Regions from separate parts of the Homo sapiens genome. Here region 1 is linked to region 2. The links are contacts of gene promoters, found by promoter capture Hi-C in blood cells and fetal thymus (Javierre and others, 2016). All regions are on one chromosome and are shown on one strand. The core of a region is centred on a gene start or on the middle of the fragment in contact, and the rest is flanking DNA. Distances in the headings are between cores, read along the strand shown.

Region 1 (5,302 bases), core at 1,899-4,398, 210 kb after region 2:
TACATTAAGGAATAAATACATACAAAGATGCGAATAATGGTAGTCATTCTCCTTCAGATGTTTTAATCAACTTATCGTAAACACAGAACGAAAAGTCTTCTTACAGCCTTGGTATTTGTCAGGACTTTTGAACTCTCTTTCTCTTTGCTGGGATGATTCTCCATCTGGTGTCTGCATGACTGGCTGCTTTTCCTCCTGTTCAGATTTCATTCTCTGAGATAAGTCTTTCCTGGTGACACTCTGCCCTGTCACTTTTGTGGCACATACAGAACCTCTATATTGTGCTGCTCTGTGTAATTTTCTGTGTACTATGCTGTGTATTTTTCCTCCTGACACTTAGCAAAATTTTGTATGCTTAGAACAATTTTGTATGTTTATTTTTATCCTTGTATAATGTGGCCTCAAAAGAGCAGGGACCTGTCTTGGTTTGTGTTGCATCATCACTCCCTCAAACTGTGCCTGGAGCAAGGTATCTGCTCAGTAGATGACTGCTGGATGAATGAATGAACGAAGGAATGAATGACGAGAGAGGATGAAGTCACAAGGTGGAGAGGGTGTGGGGGCAGGTGGGGACTGATCCCTCTATCCTGTGGTTTTAGAGATGAGGCATCCCCGACTGAGAAGAGACCTGTGATCTGGTACCTGAAGCAAGGAAGGTCCACTCCATCTTTCTTCACAGGAAACGTGGCTCCAGCTTTCAGAGTCCCACCTTCTCCTTCTGCTACTCTGAGGTTATGGGAAGACTGCACTCACTTCCTGACATGCCCTGTTTTACCTAGAGTCAGTGGATTCTGTTGAGCACTGAGATTTCCCAAACTCAGTGTCTCTGTGCAAACTTTTAAGTTCACAGCCCGACCTTGGAGAAGCAAGATCTCAATAGCTTCTCCAGAGGAGAGACTTCAATACAGCTGCTGTCTGATGCCAATTAAAGCACCATTACTGACATGGAGTCATCTGAGGAATGGAAATTGCTGTTTCTCAGGGTCTGGAAGAGGAGGAGAAATATAGAAGTCAGAAATCTCAGACTGAAGGACCAAGGTGCAGATCTGATGGCATCGTACCTCTCTTGCATTCTGAGTCGGGCCATTCAAAAAGACCCACTCTGTTCCTGGAACAATCACTTGAATGCTGCACCTGTCCACAACTTGCAGGAAGGGGCTTCCCCTTTTTCTCCCCTGTTTCTCATGGATTCCTGAGTGAAGCCCTGTGTTGGAGTCCAGGGCAGCGGCTCTCATCATCCATTTCTTCTCTCTCTGGGTCTACAAATCCTGAATTCTCGAGGCTGTGCCCTTCCTGACAGGTGTTGAATGAACCTTTGACTCGCCATTGGGAACATCTATGGAGGGCAGAATGGGCAGGAGCCAACTCACCTTCATGAGTGCTCCCACTTCCTCCTCCTCCTCCTCCCCCTTCTCCTTCCCACGTGACCAGCGGCTCCCCATCTCCAGGACATGGAACTTTTGGGAAAGATGTCCACCTCTCCTCCAGTCAGCATTACAATCTGTCCTTACTGCTGTCGGAACAATTTATCTTATTGCACATTTGACTCAAACCCTGGTTCCACCTCTATTACGATTGCTAATAGCTGGAGACTTGATGTGCCCATTTAAAAGAAATATCCCTGAGGCTAAACTTTTCTTTATCTTGGTTTCACCTTATTTATAGCATTCTTGACTTTTTCTACTTTCTTCTTTTCTATTTTCTATCATAACGTTCAATTCTATCAAAATTTATCATTCATAAATCATAATGAAGCACGTGCATTTTCAGCTGATTCACTGCAGCTCTTTTTTTCTTGGGATAGAAATCATGTCAATAAAAACCATAGTCGGACCATAAAGCATCAAATGGGACCTCAATATCAAATTGGGCTCAATTCTGGAATACAACTAAAACAAGTGGAGATCTATACACAAGTTATAGGTTGGTGTTGGGGGAGGAGTCAGTGGATGGAAAATTGCTTAGAGGAGATATTAAGGCTAGGGAGACCAATGCTAAGTTGACTCAATTGGATTTTTTTTTAAGGCAGGCCTGGAATCAGGTATCACATGAAGGATGATGGGGGAATTAAGGAATTTGGTCAGATATTGAGGGGGAGAGATTCATGATAAACCCAAATCTCTAGAGCAGATTGTCACTAAATGACAGCAGAGCGGCCGAGGAAGACACACAGACACTTCCAGATGAATTTGCAAAGCAGTTTATTGCAGGGTTCACAAGGGACTTCAGCTCAGGAAAGCTGAAGGGGTATGGAGACTGATGAGGACAGTTGCTGATACCCAGAGTACATGGAGGGATGGGATCTTGGCTATGATTGAGGAGCTTGGCAGATGAGTGATGATGAGGACTGCTGATACAGGAGCTTAGATGGTGGTATCCAGGTGAACTGGAACCACAGGATACCGTGGAGAATCCCGTGGATCTCTGTTGTCACATGCAACTACATAGAACCTCCTTCCTGGTCTGTCTGCATACGTGCAGTTTGAAATATTCTGTGCACCTGGATTTATGAGGTCACAGTGGAGTAAAGGCACCCGGAATCTACTCCGATGACAATTGTTGAGAGTTCTGTTATGAGGGCAGCGTATACTTTGGTTACCACAAACATTAACTACATTAGCAAAAGTTGTACGAAGAAAAGTATTTTGGTTTTTGCAACGCCATCGATAATTGTTAATTGCCCGCATTGCAATGGTGCATCGAGGGGGGTTCAGACTGATGTGCTGGATGGCAAACCACTGAGCCCTCGTAAACTGTGGGGGTCTGGCATGGAGTGAGCCCTCCACACCCATAAGCCCCAACAGAAGAAGCAGACAAATTTGGGAAGTGAACAGTTTTGGAACCATGTTTCCTGTAAGAAAAGAAGAGAAGTAACTACTCCCCGATCCGGTCTCGGTTATGACACACTCTATAGTGTCTCAACCCACAGGCCCCTCTGCTGCCACTCTGGGGTCGCATTTCCTTTTCTTCCTGTCCCCAAAGTGTGCCACATCTCCTAAGCACTAACTTCAGCTCACCTCTCCCTCAGGTGCTGCCCTGTCGCTGCCCCTCCTGTCCCAGCTCTGGGGATTGTTGACTTACCCAGTCTCTGAGCTGTGGCTCCTGTGAGAACTGATCCAGCTGGTTGTTCTGGGGTTCAGGGGCAGCTGGTCTCCCCTACTTGGAACTGTTTAAATAAAGCTTCCCTTGGTGGGTCTGGCCATGCAGAAACCCACAGATTGACACATGGTCCACTTGTGCAATCATCCTTTTTATTTGATGACTTGGCTGAGCAACGGATACCCAAGGACAGCCCTGCTGCTCTTTCTGCTATACGGACTCTAATTCCAAGTCATCCTGTGTTAGACAGAGTTTTGCCGGTGGGATCTGGACTCTGGGTGAAAACTATACGCTGCCGGCAGAATGACCACAGATTTTATAACTGTCCTCTGGCAGGCCCCTAAATGACTAAATGACACGAAGGCAGGCATAGTAGTTAGGAGAAATAGAGCCACAGAGGGCTGTTTGCCCAGGAGAAACCCAGCTTCCCTTCCATTTTTAGTAATATCCTTGGTTCTCTCTCACATAAATGCTCTCCATCTCATCCACCACTCTTGCTGGAAACTTGAGCTATTAATTTCTTGGGGCACAAGATTCTGTAGATAATTAAAACAATCTGCTCCATACAATTGAGGAATTTTTTTCTTTACTCCTCTTGCATTGGATCCACTTTCTCTTAAGTCTTGCCCTGATTATTGATTCCACTTTGTGTAAAGTTACATAACCTAAAAACACACCGAGGACAGTTGTAAAATCTGGCAGAGGATGAATGAACATTTGGTGTCATGAAAGATTCCAACCTAGCACTCGGTATTCCTGTGATCTTTTCAGCCTATGGTATTTTCTACAAAACAGTGTGTTCTGGGGTTGTCATTCATCTTCCTGGTAAGTTTCATTTTGTGATATTAACAAGAATATGGTTCTGTATTTACAAATGAACATTTAAGGACAGAGCACTGTATTCCTGAAAGTATAGAGGTCAAGTGTACAGTTTGATACACAAAGCATACATTTATTCTTGGCCCTCAGAGAAACACAGGAAAGTACTTGTAGACATATAATTGTATTACAGTGTGATAGAGGTAATAGCATTTGTGTGAACATGGTGTCATAGGGACACTGCTGGTGAAGGAAATCACTTGGCTTGAGAAATAAGGAAAACTTCAAAAAAAAGTTTATTTCAGCAGGTCCTAAAGGATAAGCAGGGGATTTTCAGGGGATTTAGAGAAGAGATGAGCATTCTGGGCACAGGGGATGATGTGGGGAAATTGTACAGAGGTGAGAAGTGAATTGCAAAGGTAAGGCCTGGGTACTAACAGATGTTAAATCTGGTCTAGCTTTGAGATTAGAAAATGGAAAGTAGACCCTTAAATGATATAATATACCTTCCAACAGTTAATCTGCCTAATTTTTACTACCGTCCAATTTTCCTGTCATTTAGAAATGCAATAATTTTATCACTGGGGTCCTTAGGTAAATGTGGACACAATGGTGACCTGGTGAGGACTCAATGCGCAGCTAATATTGCTCTGCCTTGAAGTCCTGTTCTGGCCGACATTCATTAGCAGCTTTATCATGAGGCAAGTTTATTTTTTCATGTATATTGTGTGGAGATCATTTTTGTAGGTGATGAGAATGTAAAGGTGAATGATACGTAGAGTATCCCCTCTGTGATGCTGACAGCCACACTGGCTAGAAACATTTGCACTTAAGTGTCTATAGTATGAGGCAAAAGACATAGACTGCAGCCCCAGGGCAGGTACTTGGCTAAACAGTGCTTCTTTTCAGCATACACAGTGCTATTTATGATGTTTGGTTTGGAAGATAAAGTTTGACATTGGAATAGTTCACTAAAAGTTTTCATTACTGTCTTATCTTTAAAAATCACATGATGGTGGTTGGTGCACCATTGGTGTTGTATCAATTAGAGCTGAGTAACAGCTGCGTCTGTGGAAGGGGCTCTAGCTCAGGGCTGTTCTCTGACTCCACTCTCCCTCCTGACTTTTATCCTATCTGTTCAGTGATGACACCTGCCTGGCTCCTGAAGACATCTGTGCTTATGACATATCAGACTTATTGAAGTGTCTTAAGCAGACCATAACCTGCCCAATTTGCAACCATATTCATCCTTTAAAATTGTGGAGTTTTTTGTTTTTTGTTTTTTTTTGAGACGGAGTCTTGCTCTTGTCACCCAGGCTGGACTGCAGTGGCGTGATCTCACTGCAACCTCCACCTCCGCCTCCCAAGTTCAAGTGATTCTCCT
Region 2 (5,095 bases), core at 421-2,920:
GCATGATCATGGCTCACTGTAGCCAACACCTTCTGGGCACAAATAATCATCCTGCCTCAGTCTCCCAAGTAGCTGGGATCACAGGCACATGCCACCATGCCTGGCTAATTTTTAAATTTTTTGTAGAGACAGGGTCGTCTCACAATGTTGCCTAAGCTGGTCTCAAACTCCTGGGCTCAAGCCATCCTCCCTGCTTGGCCTCCCAAACTGCTGGGATTACAGGTGTGGGCCACTGTGTCTGTCCTGATAGATATGTTTTTCTACCTATTCGCACCTCAGTTTATTCACTGATAAAAGGGGGCTAACAATATGACTGTGAAGAGTTGTTGATTCAGGGTGGGTGTTTAATAACTATTAGTGGTGCTGATGAGGTCACACCGATAAGTCTGATGCCCATACACTAAAAGTGTTATTCAGAAGGAAGCTGGGGACACATTTCTACAGTCGGAAGCAGAACCAGCTGGGCCCAAATATACTCTATAGATCAAAACAAATCCCAGATCTACCTAGGTGCCCTTGGCAAGTTGCTTAATCTCTCTGTTCCCTTATCTATAAAAGGAAGTTAATAATACCAGTCTCAAGGGGTTGCTTTCAGCATGGAAGAGAGCTTAGCCCAGTACCTGGTACACAAGTGCTCAATGTTAGTGGCTATGATCATCATCACTATTATTATTTCTTGTTGTTGACGATAAGAGGAGACTGCGCCAGAAGACTCTAGAAGTTAGTACGAGGAGGGAGGCAGGGTCCTGGGAGGCAAGTGATCTTTTGTAAGCCACTCCTGCCCCATCAGTGCTGTGCCAACATCGGCGGGTCATTGTATCTACTCTTTTCTTTCCCGGGGAGTGGGAGTCACGTTTTAAAGAGATCCAGAAAACTGCTGTGTGTCTACTCCTCCTCAATTCCCACGTGCATTGATTTTATTTGGTGGCGATGTGAGATGTTGGGCTTGCACTGAGGATCCCCGAGCCTGCAGGCCACTGGGGAAACAGACTTCCTGAAGCCTCATTTTTCTTACTTGTAAATGGGGGCTAATTTAATTATAGAGGGTTATTGGAAAGATTATATACTATTAGATAGGTGAACAGGCATTCAGTAAATATTGACTAAATCTGAGTATACTACTTACCAGTTTGTAGTCTAGACTACAATCGCCTGGAAGGAAGGTACCACTTCTTTCTCATCCCTCACAGCGCTGAGCCCAGTGCCTGGCACTTAGTAAGCACTCAGTAAATATTTGTTGTATTGAAGAGCCATTAAAGTGACTTGAGGAATGGAAAATAGAATTCGAGAGGAAGGCGCAGGAATTGTTTATCAAGAACGGAAAGGACCGAAGAGTAACTTTAATAATGTTTCTTATACGGCCGACATTAACTATCTCTATAATCGCCCCTCCTCCTCCCCCAAAAGAGAGACAGAAATTGTAAGGGAGAGGCTTTGAGATAAAACCCCAGGAAGAACTTCCCGAGTCTGTGCATGTTGGGGCAGAAAGAGCGGCAGAGCCAACTCCTTCCCTGGTATGTCCGGGTTTAGGGAGGGAGGGGCAGTGCTGCTTGGAGGCTGGGGGAAGGACGAGATGACCTTTCAAAATCTCTTCCAGTCTCCTGTTGGAATCCTCTGTGCGCCCCACCCCCGCTCCCTCCCTTCCTCCCTCCCTCCGACAGCGCCCCCCGTCTCCAAACCGCCCGCACCCCGCCCCTGGCGGCCGCCTCTCGCGGCTCCCGGGGTCCCCAGCTCCCTGTCCCCGGAGCCAGAGCCCGGCTCCCGCGCGGCTCCCAGCCCCGCCGCGCCGCCCCCCGCATGCTAATGGCCGGGCCGCCTCCCGCCGCACACAATGCGGGCCAGGGCCGGGGGCGGGGGACCGGGGAGGGGGCGGGGGCCGGGCCGGGGGCGGGGGGGCCGGGGCCCGGCGCATCTCCCCCGGCCCCACGTAACGCTGACGCCCGCGCCGCCGGCCCGCCGCCCGCCGCCGCCGCCGCCGCCGCCGCCCGCTCCGCCGCCGCCCGCCCGGGGCTCGTGAGTAGCCGCTCCCCCGACTCCCGGGCCCCCCCGTCCGCCACCCGGCCCCCGCCCCCGGCCCCCTCCCCCCTCCCGGAGGGGGGGCCCGCTCAGCGCGCCCGGCTCGGAGCAGGTGCAGGGGGCGGGGGCGGGGGAGGGGCGCCGGCTCGGCCCCAAGCAAACTTCGCCCAGAGCTCCTGGGGGGGCGGGGTGGGGGTGGCGGCCTCGGAAGCCTGGAGAGCTGGGGGGCCCCAAGGGAGGGGGGGCCAGGTGGAAGAGCTGGGGGAGCAGACACCAAAGGGAAGGGCCAACGGGGGGGATGTGGCGGGGGAGGTGGCGGGTGTCTTTGTAGGGGCCCGAAGGCAGGGCGCGAGGGACCTGGGGGTGAGGGGCGGCAGAGCCGCGAGCCTGAGTGGATGTGCACCCCCCAACCCCCGGCCCAGGTAGGGCTGGTGGGGGAGGGGGAAGGAGCCCAAACTCTCTGGAAGCACGGGGTGGCGGGGGAGGGGAAAGGATGGGGGGTGCTTCCCTCTTTGCGTCCCAAACAAAGTGTCACAAAGAGCTCGGCCCGCGGCAGCAGCGGAGGCGGCTGTAACTCAGCTTTTGTTCTCCTGGCCGGGGGTAGCTGAGCCTTGGCCTCCCTATCTCCCAACCCTGCCCCCCATCATCCTTCTGGCTTATCTTCCTGGGGAGGGGTCTGGGGTGCTGCTGGAAAAACCTCTCCGGCAGGATAGCAGGTCCTACCCTACTTAGCAATCTATTTCTGGGAGGGGGATTTTCCCAGAGGCTCCCTTGATCGCCCCTACCTCCCAGTCTGAGGACCGAGGCTCACGTGGGTGCTAAGACTGACTTTTCTAGGGTCAGCTCCACTTAAAGGGACTTAGGGCTGGCTACATGCCCCTCTTTCCCAAACCCAGGTCTTCCAGAACTTTCAAAATCAAAATCGGGGTTGCGTTAGGACATGCCTCTGGGATAAGATTCCCCATGGTGGGATGGCAGCAGGTGAGCAGGTGTGCCTTCCTCTCGCCTCCTGCTGTACCTTTGAAGTCCATGGCTGAGGTTCCATGTCCCTAACTCAGGAGAGTGAGGACAGAGGGAAGGAGGCTTTACCAAGATCTCAGTCTAAAAAGGCTGGTGAGCTGCAGAGTGGAGCGGGTTAGGAGGAGCTATCTGAGCAGTGAGGTTCAGAGGGCCATGGAGAGGAGACCATAAAAGTGAACTACTGGTGTGTCTGTGTGATCAAGGTAGTCTTTTGAACGTAGACCGCCCTAGAAGCTCCCTTTCCTTTTAACCCCATCTAGTGCAGTGGTAATCATAATTGTTAGCAGATTTGGGAGGTCTAGGATTCTCAAGAGGGAAAACCATCGTGTTAGAGGTGACCAGAGGCAGTTACAACTGGACCCCAGAAGTCCTGAACCCTTGCTCCTTACACTTTGACCCTAAAAACTTTTGAATCACAAGACTTGAGGGACAGTCTTTGTGGTCCATTTAGCAAATACTTCTATGTACCTGTCCTTGTTGTTTCTAAGTCTTTTCACCAACCATTCCATCCTTCTCTACTGAGTAAGGTTTAGTGGTCCACACCCACTTCCCTACCAGCTGCCCCAGCATGTAAGGATAATTGGCCTACTGCTTTTGAAAGGTTTCTGATATCTATCCCTGGCCCCGCATCCTTATAGAATCCAAATAAGGGCAAGATAACCCCTGATTCCCAGTGGGGGTGGAAAGTAGGTCAGTGCTGCTGTCTGGCCAAGTCTCGAGGATGGTGTTTAAGGCCTGACTATAGAAAACTCTGTGATTATTGTCCAGGGGCAATATATGCATGACCTCGGTTCCAAGGCAGTTCATAGTATCCCAGTCCCTGTCAGTTCTTTCCCCTACTGAGAAAAAAATCATGGGATCAGGTGTCTGGAACCTGGTTTGATATGGAGATGATTCAGATCTTCATTGGGCCTAAGAAGGTATCTCAGTGAGTTTTGTTGATTTTAGGCCACCTTCTGGGGAAACTTTCCGTGCTGGGGAATTCAGCTTCAGTTTGGGCCTTCTTGTATATCACTCTATTTCTGTTCTGGAAACTGCTATGTGCAAAGTGGTTTATTGTTGTTTTGTTTTGGGATAGGAAGCTTTGCCCTTTTCTGACTCTTCTTGCCTCAGATATGAGGCCAGCTTCCTAAGAGATTTTGCTTGCTATCCTACAGACAGTTTTAGGGGCCCTAGAATCTTCTCAGAATGAGAGTATGTGCCCATAGGTTAGTCAGCTATGACCATGCAGTATTCCCAGCCCCCCCGCCCCACGCCTCCACCATCTGCTTCCTCTGAATATACCAGATTGGCTGTACACCAGGATGTTCCGGGAATCCCCAGGAGAGCAACAGAATGTGATGGACCCAAATATGATGCCTCAGTAACTCATTCCAGGATGTACAAACTGTAACTGTCAGGATGCTCCTTATAGCTAATTAAAATTCTTCTAGTTACATCTATTTTCTATTAGCTCTTTCTATTTTCAGTGACATCTAAAAGGCCAAAATAATCCCTCTGGTACCACTGGGTTTTTTTCTATGGTTTTCAGATAGGAACGAAAAAAAAATGCTCTAGCTTTTCTGTGTTGTATCTGCGATGCTAAAATGGCAAACAGCCCCTCTAGCACCTCATAGCTCTATCTATGGTACTGAGGTGGCCCAAGTGGCTTCTGTGGTAGCCCACTGCACTCTCCATGGTACTGAAGGGATGACCATTTGTTTTAACATCTCTCTGGGGTCCAAAAGAGTCCTGTGACTTAGAATCACAAACTTTTTTCGAGCAGGAAGGGACTAACACTATAAATTAGTCCAATCCCCTTATTTTACTGATGAGTAAACTGGGAGGTTAAGTGATTTAGTAAAGGTTGTAGGGTTATCAATGTTCAGACTAGGCCTACAATAGCCTTGTACCCTTCAGTCCTATTCTAATTCACCTTTTGTGACACTATTCAGTAAGCCTGGCTAGGCTCTTAGTCCCAGGAAAGGATCCAGAGGATGAGAGTGGGTGCCCTAATTTGAAGCTACAGAAATACACATATTAAGTGGTAGTGGAGGTCGTCTAGTGACCCTTGGACAAG

Evidence for each region. Contacts are between HindIII fragments. The CHiCAGO score rates a contact against its expected background, and 5 or more counts as called.
Region 1: the fragment with the promoter of RNASE3 here is called in contact with the fragment with the promoter of ZNF219 in region 2 in 3 of 17 cell types (M1 macrophages, M0 macrophages and megakaryocytes); the score reaches 7.5 in M1 macrophages.

The regions. Positions count from the first base shown.
Region 1 is chr14:20,889,231-20,894,532 of GRCh38, reverse strand. It overlaps RNASE3 (ribonuclease A family member 3), which reads right to left and starts at 3,148. Exons shown (of 2, transcript NM_002935.3): 1 at 3,082-3,148; 2 at 2,185-2,851. The coding sequence starts at 2,846. The coding sequence ends at 2,364. The region is part of intron 1 of LOC100507513 (a long non-coding RNA gene); the gene reads left to right. The HindIII fragment of the contact is 4,045 bases long and covers 1-3,182 here.
Region 2 is chr14:21,095,230-21,100,324 of GRCh38, reverse strand. It overlaps ZNF219 (zinc finger protein 219), which reads left to right and starts at 1,670. Exons shown (of 5, transcript NM_016423.3): 1 at 1,670-2,013. It also overlaps a transcript of TMEM253 not described here. RefSeq lists enhancers at 1,488-1,988, 2,748-3,249. The HindIII fragment of the contact is 7,101 bases long and covers 1-4,120 here.